2 separate regions of the Homo sapiens genome follow, and region 2 is linked to region 1. Evidence: promoter capture Hi-C in 16 types of primary human blood cells and fetal thymus (Javierre and others, 2016). All regions are on one chromosome and are shown on one strand. The core of a region is centred on a gene start or on the middle of the fragment in contact, and the rest is flanking DNA. Distances in the headings are between cores, read along the strand shown. Region 1 holds the start of SLC16A10 (solute carrier family 16 member 10). Region 2 overlaps REV3L (REV3 like, DNA directed polymerase zeta catalytic subunit).

The links. The method cuts DNA at HindIII sites, captures the fragments that hold promoters and counts their contacts. A CHiCAGO score of 5 or more calls a contact.
Region 2: a contact is called between a fragment that was not itself captured here and the fragment with the promoter of SLC16A10 in region 1, in 6 of 17 cell types (fetal thymus, activated CD4 T cells, non-activated CD4 T cells and 3 more). The highest score is 7.6, in fetal thymus.

Annotation. Positions count from the first base shown.
Region 1 is chr6:111,083,907-111,090,485 of GRCh38, reverse strand. SLC16A10 (solute carrier family 16 member 10) reads right to left here and starts at 2,983. Exons shown (of 6, transcript NM_018593.5): 1 at 2,391-2,983. The coding sequence starts at 2,733. RefSeq lists silencers at 2,413-2,592, 2,623-3,302 and an enhancer at 2,100-2,600. The HindIII fragment of the contact is 14,016 bases long and covers 1-6,579 here.
Region 2 is chr6:111,475,317-111,481,895 of GRCh38, reverse strand. All of the region lies in intron 1 of REV3L (REV3 like, DNA directed polymerase zeta catalytic subunit), which reads left to right. Among named protein-coding and RNA genes, the nearest start is that of REV3L, 4.6 kb to the left of the region's middle. RefSeq lists enhancers at 2,530-3,254, 3,852-4,744. The HindIII fragment of the contact is 2,284 bases long and covers 842-3,125 here.

The sequences.
Region 1 (6,579 bases), core at 1,734-4,233:
TATGTATTACCTAGCACCCAAGTAATGGCCATTGTTCAATCTAGATGCTGTGTTATACAGGGCCATTACAAGTGCATAGGGCCCTTCTGTAGGAATCAGACAAAGGGCACCCAGAGCCCAGGCTGGTTTTCAGTCCCCACTTACCCCTGAGTTGGGCACCCTTGTGCAATGGCACAACCATAAATAGATATACAGCAGTCAGGCAGAGAAACACAAAGATCTTCACACATTTAACTAGCACACCTGTGCAACTGTTTATATGATATATACCCACACATACACAAACATGACTGAAAAAGTTGTCAAAGACTGAACTGAGTAAAAAGAAAAAAGATATTCATCAAAATGGAAAACACAAAGTTCCACAGAGTGCAAAAGAAAAACCAGGTTCCTTCCCTCACTCTCAGCTACCCAGTATTGGGATATTGTGTAGCCAATTAGAACTTTGGGGACAAGTAGTAGGTAGAGACTTTGACACTGCAAAATTCTCATCCCTGGCAAAGCTATGGTCTCTCTGGCAATTGCTCTCTCTCTCTCTCAAAAAAAAAAAAAAAAAAAAAAAAAAAAAAAAAAAAAACCCACCCACAGACACCAAAGGATCTACTTAACTGAATTTGCAAAAACAATGATAAACAAAAGACTGCTGTTATCTTGACTGCATTAAAAAATCTGTAATCCCAGGCAGGAATATGGTAAATGTTGGAACTAGTCTTTAAATGTTAACTCTGTCAATTCTGCCTTCTTTTGGGGCTTTTCTCTCTGACACCCAATACTCATATAGAAAAGACAACAAACTATTTTTGTTTGCTATTATATATGCATATCTCCCCTGCTAAACTTTACAATGATTACTTCCCTTAAATGGTAAGGATATGTTACTACATTTTTAACACTTTTTGTACCTAGCCCATTGACCCGCATACCACAGCAGTTTCAATAGCTATTTAAAGAACAGAAATTCCAGGTTAAAATGGTACCGTATTCACATGCATAACGAGAGTGTACAAGAATATTCATTGCAGCATTGTTTAGAATGAGTTTGGAAGCAATCTAAATGCCCATCAGAGGGAGAATGCATAGAGTATAATATAGTCAAACAATGCAAACCACCTAAGTTAAAATGGAAAGAATTTGAGTTATCAGTTCACACTGAGGTATTATGTGGATAAGTCACAAACATGATGCGGAATGGAAGAAAAGTAAGTTGCAGAATGATACAAATAGTTTAATAGTATTTATGTCAGGTTTTAAAACTCTCAGCATAACCCAGCATTACCTTTGTCTCAGAATTTATTACAGTCTTGCCCATTCCTCATATGCATACTAAAGACCTAAGAAATATTCACTCTAAAAATAATAGAAAATCAAGGTTAAAAAAAAAGACTATTAATCATATAAAGTTACCCCAAATGATGGGGAGGGAGGTTGATTTAGTAATGGAAATCACTTAGCCCTTGAAGTCAGTTGATATGTGTTTTATTGCCATTCTACTACCCACCAAGACACTTTCACTGAGCTACAGTTTTCTCACCCAAATGGGGTTGACCGCGCTCACCTTGCAGGATAAAGTGAAAGAATTTATGTTAAAGTGTCATGCAGAAGGTCTTAGATTTGTTTTTTGCCTAACCAGCCAAAAAGTCATAATAATGCTCTACAGGGAGAAAACGCTGAATCTGCACCTTTTGTATCTAATTTACTATATGGTTAAAAAAAAATGTCAAAAAACACAACAGGAAGAGGGAAGAAGCAACCCTTCACCTTCCTCATCCTAGTCCCTAATCCGGCTGCCTCCCGTGTTTTCTACATTTAACCCAGAGGGCAAAAAAAGGCGGGGGGACGGGAACGCACGGAACCGTGACTCTTGCAGGGCCCCCTTTGGAACTCCAGTGACCTTCGTACAAATCTCTTTCATTCCTCCAAACTCCACCCCCCGCCCCGCCAACATACGCACACCCCTCTGCGGCCCAGGGAGGCAGGTGAAGAACTACATAACTGGCATAGTCACGAAAGAGACCACAAAAATGACAGGGCGATGACTGGGGTTGAAGGTTCTGGGGTTCTGTTTGTTTTCAAACAATAAAAGGAAGGGCTCCTGTGGACTGTTAGCGTCTGCTCTGCTGAGGGGAAAGGAGGACGATCTCGGCAAGTAAGTTCTGCGACCTGCTTGCAAACACACAGCTCTGCAGCTGGATTCCATATAAAGACGGGCACCCCGAGGCCCCAGAAGCGGCAGGCTCTGTCTGCAACTCGAAAGACCCCCCTGCTCGCACCCTCTGGCACAGGGACCCACCGACATGCACACTCGGAGGCAGACACAGCCCACACGCGGGATGCGCTCGGGGGCCCCACGCGGGTCGCCCAGGCTGGCCTCGGCGGGCGCCGCGCCTCACCTGTCTTAAAGACCATCTTGTCATCGTCTTTGGAGCCGAAGGTTTCCAGCATGGACACGAAGAGCACCCCGCAAGCGTTCTGGATGCCGAACACCGACCCGTTGCACCACATGGCCGCCAGCATCACCAGCCAGCCCCAGCCGCCCTCGGGGGGTTCGGGGGGCTCATGGGGCTCCGCGGTCGCCGGCCCCGCCAGCTCCACCTCCACCTTCTCGACAGCCGCCTCGGGGCTGTCCGAGGGTCCCGGGCCGGGCGGCGGAGCGGCCCCCGTGGGCGCGGGGCCGAGCGGCTGCGCCTCGCTCGTGCCCCGCGCGGAGTCCGGCTCCTCCTGGGAGAGCACCATGGCCCGAGGCGGGCCCCTCAGGCGCCGGAGAAGCGCGAGGGACGCGAGTTACCAGCGGGCTCCCGGAGGAGCTGCGGGGCTCCTGGCGGGCTAACGAGGCCGAGGCGAGGGCGGCGGAGCCCCTGGCGGGCGGGCGGGCTGGCAGCGCGCAGGCGGCCAGCGCGCAGGCGGCCGCGAGGACAGCTGGCGCGCGCGAACACCTCGGGGATCGACACTGAAGCCTCTAGGTCACAGCCCCGCACCCCCGACTGAGCCCACTGCCAGCCGCCGGTTCTTAAAAGCACCCCCCGCCCCGCCGGCTGGGGGCGTGGCCGGGAGCGGGACGTGCCCCCACAGCCTCCAGATGATTGGGCCTCGGAGAGCGGAGGCGGGGCGCCCCGCGGCGCGCGGCCCCAGGTGCCCGCGGCAGACGCTGTCTGCGCGCGCGTCTGCGACGGGGCCTCCTCCTGCTCAGAGAGGGGCACAGATGTGTGGGTCACCCCGCCTCAAAGCATGAGCAGAAGGGGCGCGTCTCCTAGGTGCGGGCGCGGTGGGCCTTCAGGAGAGCCACACTGGATCGTTAGCCTCAACTCACCGACACAGCGTCACAGTCACACTAACATTGTCTCGATTGTGTTTGTTTTATGTTTTGGCATTCACCTCTCAGTACTAATTATAATATGTAAGATTCGTTATGCCACCTGGCTTCTTAAATAAGTCATCTGAAGGATCAGAGCCCTTATTTTATTACTTCAGTTCCATTCTCTTGCATTCGTATACAATTTCCTTATGAATATTTGGCACACCAAAGATGCTTATTTTCAGTCCTCACTGGACTGCAATTCCGAAGTCTTCAACCAACAAACATTTTTAACAGACAGCTAGAAAGCATTACTTTTCAACTACATCAGAGTCGTTTTCACTTTAAACAAAAACTAAAACCTGTATTCAACTCCTCTGTCTCCCTGAAGCATGGAGTGCCATCCTATGTAAAAGAAAAGAAGAGTAACCTGCTATGCAATATTGAGGATGCTTCTTAATTTCTGTTATTCGTATTCTTCACTTCAATCAAAGTCAAAATATGCTAGTTACTTGATGTGCCCACCACTGTGATAGAGTACACAGATGAGTGCGATTGATCTCGTTTCTGCCTCTTATCAGTTGATAAACTGGTAGGAAAAAAGAGTCCTGGGAGAGACTAGGAGGCTCAGATGATGTGTTATAATACATGTACAAAAGAGAGAGATGAGATAGTCCCTTAAATTCTCTCCAAACACTGTAGAAGAGCCTCTACAGCAAACAGCCTTTGGCCGAAGCCCTGATTCATACATACGACTTCAGTGGGTCAAGACAGGAAAAGAGCATTCCAGGTAGAGAAAATAGCATAAACTAAGGAAAGCAAGCCGTGCTTGGTTGTGGAATGGGGAACATAGCTCAAGTGTAATCTGCCTTAGAAATGAGGGTAAAATAGTAAACAAAGGAATAGGCACATAAGTGCACAAAAATGTATGTATGAAGATGATACCCCAGTATTGTTGGAAATAAGGAAAATTTGGAAGTATAATGTACATTGGTAGAAGACTGATTAGATACTTACTTTAAAACCTCTAAAAGTTCTGAAGGTCATCTGTATTTATTGACTTTGAAAGTTGTCCACAACATATTATTGGGCAAAGAAAGCACATCGATTATATATTTGCATGCACACAAACAAACACATATGTAAGAATTATCCACGAGTCAGTACTGATGTAAGTAAATGATTAAATAAATAATGAGGAGAGAATAGACAAATCTCTCCTGCAGGAAATGTAAATACTTTATGAACATACTCCCTCCCTCATGGAGGTGAAGTACAATGGTTTACTCTTTAAGTGTGGGTATGCGTAGTAACTTTCTTCCAAAGAGTATAGGATGGAAAGGGGGAGTGGGGGGAAGAAATAACTTTAGGGTGCAAAAAATGGCACACAGTACCTCAACTAGATGATAATGTATCCCCGATATGATGTGATGAAAATGGTACTTTACCTCTGTGGTCTTCCTGCCAAAACCCATAATCCCTGGCTAACCATCAGAAAAACATTAGACAAATCCCAATCAAGGACAGTCTACAAAATACCCATTAAGTACTTTCATTACTGTAAAAGTCATCAAAAACAAGGAAAGTCTGAGAAACTGTCACAGTAAAAAAGAGTCTAAGAGGGCTGGGTGTCGTGGCTCATGCTGGTAATCCCAGCACTTTGGGAGGCCGAGGCGGGCGGATCACTTGAGGTCAGGAGTTCGAGACCAGCCTGGCCAATATGGCGAAACCCCATCTCTACCAAAAATACAAAAATTAGCCAGGCATAGTGGCGTGGGCCTGTAATCCCAGATACTCAGGTGGCTGAGGCAGGAGAATCGCTTGAACCCAGAAGGCAGAGGTTGCAGTGAGCTGAGATCGCGCCACTGTACCCCAGCCTGGGTGACAGTGAGATTCCAACTCAAAAAAAAAAAAAAAAGCCTAAGAGACATGATAACTAAATGTAATGTGATATCCTGGATGGATACTGGAACAGAAAAAGGACATTAGATTAAAAGTAAAGAAATATGAACAAAATGTCGGCTTTAGTTAATAATAATGTATCAACATTGGGTCATTAATTGTAACAAATGAGGCAAGGTGTGGTGGCTCAAGCCTGTAATCCCAGCACTTTGGGAGGCTCAGGTGGGAGGATGGCTTGAGGCCAGGAATTCGAGATCAGCCTGAGCAACATTGCTGAGACCAGCAACCAGGCTGGTCTCGAACTCCTGGCCTCAAGCAACATAAGTAATAATCCATCTCTTTAAAAAAAGAGTGTTTACTTCTAACTACCAATAGGCTATTGAATGGAGCAGAGTTTTAGGTGTCCAGGAAAACTACCTTCTATTTCTATGTCCACACTAATCAACAACTCACATTGTGTTATTGGATTGACCTCATCTTCTCCACCTGAAAATATGAACCTGTTTACTTATAACTACAGCATAGTGACATAGTGATGGTATTTTTTTTTTTTCCTGAGATGGAGTCTCACTCTGTCACCAGGCTGGAGTACAGTGGCCCAATCTCGGCTCACTTCAACTTCCACCTCCCGGGTTCAAGCGATTCTCCTGCCTCAGCCTCCTGAGTAGCTGGGACTACAGGCGTGCACCACCACACCCAGCTAATTTTTGTATTTTTAGTAGAGATGGGGTTTTACCATGTTGGCCAGGGTGGTCTCGATCTCTTGACTTCGTAATCTGCCTGCCTTGGCCTCCCAAAGTGCTGGGATTACAGGCATGAGCCACCATGCTCAGCGCAGTGATGGTATGTTTTTAATGAGTTCCTATTTATTAAGTGCTTTGAGATCAGATAAAAAGATTTATAAAATTTTAAAAGGTGTAATAGTTCATTAAATCTAAATGCCAACAGTGCTTTATGTAGGCCTTTTCATCAGCAGTTTATGTTAAACTTATTTATTAAACAAAACAATCCACTTGATTCCTTATTCTATTTCAAAAGACCAACCTTTCCTATTTAGGACAGTCTTATTTATTTATTTTTATTTTGTTTTATTTTATTTTTGAGACAGAGTCTCGCTCTGTCACCCAGGCTGAAGTGCAGTGGTAAGATCTCGGTTCACTGCAACTCCACCTCCTAGGTTCAAGTGATTCTCCTGCCTCAGCCTCCCAGGATGGTCTTGATCTCCTGACCTCATGATCCGCCTGCCTCTGCCTCCCAAAGTGCTGGGATTACAGGTGTAAGCCACTGTGCCTGGCCCTTTTTTTTTTTTTTTTTTTTGAGACAGAGTCTCTCTCTGTCCCCGAGGCTGGAGGGCAGTGGCACAATCTCAGCTCACTGCAACCTCT
Region 2 (6,579 bases), core at 734-3,233, 390 kb before region 1:
ACTATGTTGAAGAAGGGATGGGAAGGGGAGACAGCCGTGACAGAAGGTACGTTCTCAAAAACTCCTGGGGCTTATGATAATATAAAAAAGATAGAGGCCCAGTTTACTAGGTGTTTTAAAATGGTTTTGCTTTTTTGCATGCTTTGAACTGCTTCCATGAAATAATGGAGTTCTAGGAAATAATGCATCTTAGGAAAGGTTGTTCTTCCCTCTAGCTATGAATTGCCCTATGGGATTTTAGATAGCATTTCCCACTTGATGCTCCTTGCCCTCATCACCATTCATCTTATTACTACAGTCAGTTTCTGTGGACTACCAAGATAATAGCGCTTTCCCAAACACAAGCACTCATTTTAAAGCAGTTATCTTTTAATGTGAATTCTCTTTGTTAAAATGTCAATGTTGTGAGATTTGGTAGCATATTCCTATTTAAACTAGTGAATATGATTTTGATATGAACCTTGAAAGATGGGGAATTTGAGTGCTTTTAACGTGTTGAAAGTGTAACACTTGAAACTTTGGAGGCTGGGAAATCGAGGCGATGAAGTGTTCTATAAGATAGGTTTTCTGCCCTTTTAAATATAGTGGTGCTGTCTTTGTTTCCAATTGGAATTTCAGTGTAATGCACTGTTCTCACTTCAGATGCAGAGGAAGGATAAAATAGTGAAGTTGATATGGCCCTGTTCAGCCAAATTTCCGAATCATAAAGTGACATGCTAATAGGATATACTGTGGCATTTCTGTGTATTACAGCTTGTATGGTTTGAGTTACTTTTCCACACATAATTTTTTCTCCTCCACACAAGTCATTAAATATGTTTTCCTGAGAGATAGTCAAGCTTTGTTGTATAGGAAAGTTTCGTTTGTGGAAATAAATGAGTTTCACTGTAAGCTAATGTAATTCTATTACGTGAGGAAATGTTCCTTAAAAAATAAAGAATATTATATACTGTTGTTTTCCTGAATATTTTTTAAAAGACACATTAACTATTTCCTATTTAATCCTTCATGGACATCCCACAATAGATTACCAGCACCTTAAAAAAAAAAAAAAAAACAAAAACGAAAAAACCAAAGACTAAAAACCCCCATTGGGGTTTTTTTTTTGGTACATACTTTGAAATTTATATTTTAAATGAATTAAAAAGTAACACTTTTTATATGTACATTGAAAGACATAAAACTTGATACAGAGAAAGTCAAATTTTAAATTGTTAAGGATTATCAAATTGAATTTGCCATGTAGTTCACAGTTTCCAACAAAATGTTTGTTTCAACAAGAAAAAATTTGAAGTCATTGGCATACATTTAGAGTTTACACTTTTCATAAACCAAGCCAGCATTTTTATTAGCACGTCAGAAACTCCCAGTGAGATTAATATTAATTAAACATAATCAAAAACTGCAGAATTACCTGCTTTTGAATTATCTCCCCAAGGAAAACTAGTCCAATAAAATAAAACTTGAAAATTATTAATATAAAAGAGAGGCCAGTCTGACTTAGTAAAACTCTGAATGCTAGAATTTTTAATGAAGACAGATTTATTTGAAAGTAAAGATGTAAACATAATGCAAAGATATAAACATGGTTTGTATTATATCTTTATAGTTTATATCTTTACTAACAAGTAAAATAAGGTAATAAAAATGTGTAACACATGATAAACCTATGCTACATAAAATAGCATAAACATACTTTTTTCATATATAAGAATTACTTTGGGAGGTCCTTAATGCTTTACTTTGGTTTGGAGAGAAAATGTTTTAAAATTGACTTTGCTTTACAAATGAGATCCTGAAAAATAGCAACCAAAGATATTTTTTCTCAAATGAAGTGGCCGTTTCAAAATTATATTACAAATTCTGAACTGATTGGATTAATACCCTTTTACTAGTTTAGTTTTTCTATTATTGCCTGAAAAGCATTTTTCTGCTTTAGAAAACAGTCCAGTTGACTTTTGATTGTTCTGTGTTTTGAGGACGTATCTTGAGTAATTTAAGAAATAAAGTGTTTTGGGTTTAAAAGCTCCCATGTCTTAAGTTGGTGAAATTTGAAAAGGTATTTTTAAAAAGAGGGATATTCAGGGCTGGGTGCTGTGGCTCATGCCTGTAATCCCAACACTTTGGAAGACAGAGGCAGGAGGATCGCTTGAACCCAGGAGTTGGAGACCAGCCTGGGCGACATAGTCTGTACAAAACAAACAAACAAACAAACAAAATTGGCTGGGCGTGGTGGTGTGCACCTGTAGTACTAGCTATTTGGAAAGCTGAGACAGGAGAATCGCTTCAGCCCAGAAGGTTGAGGCTGCAGTGAGCCAAGATCACGCCACTGCACTCCAGCCTGGGCAACAGAGCAAGAGCCTGTCTTAAAAAAAAAAAAAAAAAAGGCGGGGGGGGATATTCAGATTTGAATGGTAAATCCTGACTGATTTAATCCCTTGCCAACTGAGGATATTGATTCCTAAGGGAATCACTTAAAGTTTCTTCATCTGAGTTATGGAATTTTTTAAAAAACAAAAACAAATTTCCTCTCCATTTTTTTAACTAGTTTTTAAAATGTCTTGAACATTATTTTGACATAATCAAATTGAGCAGTATCATTTGTAGAATAAATTGTTAATTTTTTCTTTTAGAACAACATTTTGGTAACTTGTTTTAATGGAGGGAAGAAAGGTTGTGAATAAAGTATAGGACAATGTTTTTTCATTTAGATTTGAATATAGGTGTGACCACTCAGAGGATTCACTACAAATGAAATCATCAGGCTTCATTTAAGGATTTGACTGAGGTGGACTTGGGAAGCTGTCCATTTTCCACATCTCGACTTTTGCTTAGTTGCTTGATGTAACTCACTTCATGCTGAGTTTAGACAGCTCTCACAGTTTCCTCAGCACCAGGTTAAACAGAACTATCCTTTCAAAGAGCTTCCCTGCTGAGATGCAGAGTAGGAGTAAATAGAAGAGTGTGGGATGTCCACAAAGCAAGGAATTAAACAAAGTAGGCCAGACAGACTATAGAGGGAGCTGCTTGTCTTTAAGATTACTCTAAGGAACTCTGCCACTTCCTCTAGCTTAGTGAATATTTTGGTAGATTGTTCTAGATACTGTTAGCCATGAAATCAAGCTTTTCAACATAAGGAATTGATAATTCTGAAATGCTATATAAGTTTATGTAGATGCTTATCCAATTATAAATATATTCTCATTGTTTATATTTTATAAAATTAAATATAAGAAACTACCAGAATAACCTTTTTTTTTTTTTTTGGTAAATTGGAGTTAAATTTGCAATAAGAATAATTTTGAAAATTAGCGTGTATCAACAACTCAGGTTCAAAAGTTTCTCTAATAGAATCTGCTTTGTTCATAGTCTGTTTTTTACTAAGCTATTTAAAAATATTTTAAGATCATATAACACCTATTTGATTACAATTATTGGAGAGATTTTCAGGAACGCTATGGAGATGTAATGACTCATCACAAACAAATTGGTCACTTTTTTTAAAGTAGGTATTTGAAGCCCTGAGTAGCAAGTTGTTTTAGCTTTAAGTGCCTTAAGAACAGCTTTACTCTCCAGAAGCTCACAATGTAGTAGAGATGATGGGCATGTAAACGTAAGTCAAATGCAGTATGACTGGACTATAGAAATGTGTATAAGACAAAGCAAGGATTCATTGGGAGACATGTTCTATATCCAGGCAAAAAGGGGAGTCAGGGAAGACTTCGTGAAGGAAATATGGATTAGTCATGTTAAAGGAATTTTTAAGGAACTTAAAATTTCAGATAGAGGAACAGCTACAAGGTAATTGACAGATGAAGACAACTGCTCTTTGCAGGGCAGTTTGGCAATGTATATTAGAATCCTTGAAGTGTTCTTTTTTGACCCAGTAATTCTAGTTTTAGGGATTTTAATCTATGAGCATAAATCTTTTGGCAAATCTGGTTGTCTTTTGAATCCGTCTACTTCTTTTCATAATCCATCACCACCCTAAACTACTAGCATTTTTGGTCAGGTTTACTACAGTAGCCTCCTAATCTTGGTTTATCCCAATCTACTTTGTCCCCTTCTGATCTGTTTCCTACACTGTAATCAGAGGGATCTTTTAAAAATGCAAACCTGATTACATCACCCTACTGTTTGATATGCTTCAGTAGCTTTCCATTGCATTCAGGATATGGACAGAACTCTGTGTCTTATATGGTGGCATCTGCCTGTCTTACAAGGTCTTGCATAGTCTGGCCCTTACCTTTCTGTCTAGTCATGACTTGAGCCATGTTCTTGACTTACTCTTTTTGTTCCAGCCTTGTTGGCCTTATCTCAGTCCCTTGTTCTTGCCATGCTCCTTCCCACAGTGAGGGCTTTGTACCTGCCGTTGCCCCTGCTGAGAATGTTTTTACTTTTCTTTCACCTAAACTTCGATTTATCTTTCCTCAGGGAAGGCTTCCCTATCACAGACTCTCAGAGCACCATGAACTCTCCTCATAGCACTTGCTGTCATTGTAATTTCATATGTGTTGGAGATTAACATCTGTTTTTCCAAATAGATTGTAACCTCCAGAAATCCTGATAATGTGTTTCTTTTTCCTCACCATTATAGAGTTAATGCTTACCACAGTGCTTGAAACTCGTCTATTAATTCTTGGAACTCATTTGTGGCAAGGATTAATAAATAGATGATAATCATCACAGAGAACAACTCTAAGTGTTCAACAATTGGCAAATGGTTGCATAAACTGGGTATATTCATTTGGGAGGATGTGTTTAAAACATGTTGTAGAAGTATGTGTAATAACATGGGAAAGTGCTGTCATATTATGTGAAAAAATTAGTTTACAAAATAGTCACTTATTAAAAGTGTGGAAAAAAATACACCGAAGTATAAAAGTTGGTTATCTCTGGAAGGTATGTTTTATATTTTCAGATTTTTTACAGATAACATGTGCTGATTTTATAATTTAAAAAAACCATGTACAAAATTAAGGAAAAATTGATTTTCTAGATATGGTTCCAGAAATGTAGTGGGAGACATGAGATTCGTAATGGTCTCCAAAATATGTGTCAACCAAAATGCATGATTGCATGATGATCATATTGAACTTAATTATATAAATTCCATTTAGAAATTGCAAAATGATTCATAAATTAAAGCAAGCCAGTAATTTCTGGTTGTATTATTCTTACTTGTATGTAAAGTGGTTTTAATTTTAAAATGTTTTGAAAAGTAACATGGTTTTGGCACATGACAGCACTAAAACAGAGTAAAGACTAGAATTAACTTAAATATATATGAGAGCTTAATATAGGTTGAGCATCCCTTATCTAAAACTCCATAATCTGAAATCCTTCAAAATCTGAAATGTTTTGAACACCAACATGATGCCACAAGTAGAAAATTCCACACCTGACCTCATGATGGGTCGCAGTCAAAACTTCGTTTCAGGCTGGATGCAGTGGCTCATGTCTGTAATCCCAACACTTTGGGAGGCTAAGGTGGGAGGATTGCTTCAGCCCAGGAGTTCAAGACCAGCCTGGGCAACATGGAAAGACGCTATCTCTACAAAAAAATACAAAAGTTAGCCAGGCAGGGTGGTACACGTTTGTGGTTCCAGCTACTTGGGAGGCTGAGGCAGGAGGATCGCTTGAGCCCAGGAGGTGAAGGCTGCAGTGAGCCATGATTGTATGACTGCATTCCAGCCTGGGTGACAGAGCAAGTCCCTGTCTCAAAAACAATCAAAACAACTTTGTTTCATGTGTAACATTATTTAAAATTATATAAAATTACATTCAGGTTTGGTCCCATCCTCAGGATATCTCATGTATGTGCAAATATTCTAAAATCTGAAACACTTCTGGTCCCAAGCATTTCAGATAAGGGGTATTCAACTTGTATATGAAAATGGATCCCACCTTCATTTATGAGTAGGGAAAAGAAGAATTGTTTAATAAACAGTGTTGGGATAGCCAGTTAGTCATCTGGAAAAATAATGTTGGCTTCCAGAGGAGTTAAAGATTTAAATATGAAACAAAGAAACAAAAAAGGTAGGGTAATTATTTTTTACGTAATCCAGGATTGGTGAAGTCCTTTAATAGCATACTGGGTTGCTGGATTTTAGGACATAAAAATAAAATTCTGTACAGGGGAAAAAATCAAACAAAGTTAAAAGAGAAACAGACTAGTAAAACTTATTTGTATACTTCACAAAGGGCTAAGTTCCTCTTAATACAAAGAACTAGAAAATAATCCAGTAGAAAAATTAGCAAAGAGAATTCATATGAAAAAATGTACAACTTTATTTATAATATAATAAAGATGTAAATTCAAGCTACAACATACTCTTTGTCACCTATCAAATGAGCAAAGGTTATGTATAGTATAACTCGGGAAAGGTGAGAAGAGAAAATGGTCAGCCTTATACATTGCTGGTGGGATTATAAAGTATTCATACTCTATAGAAAGCAGTTTGAAAATGGTTTTCAAAAATTAAAACACAGATTTATTTCGTTCTAGTAATTCCATTATAGGATTTTATTCTCTAGAAGATTTTGCATATATGTCAAATAAATATCTAAGAATATTTG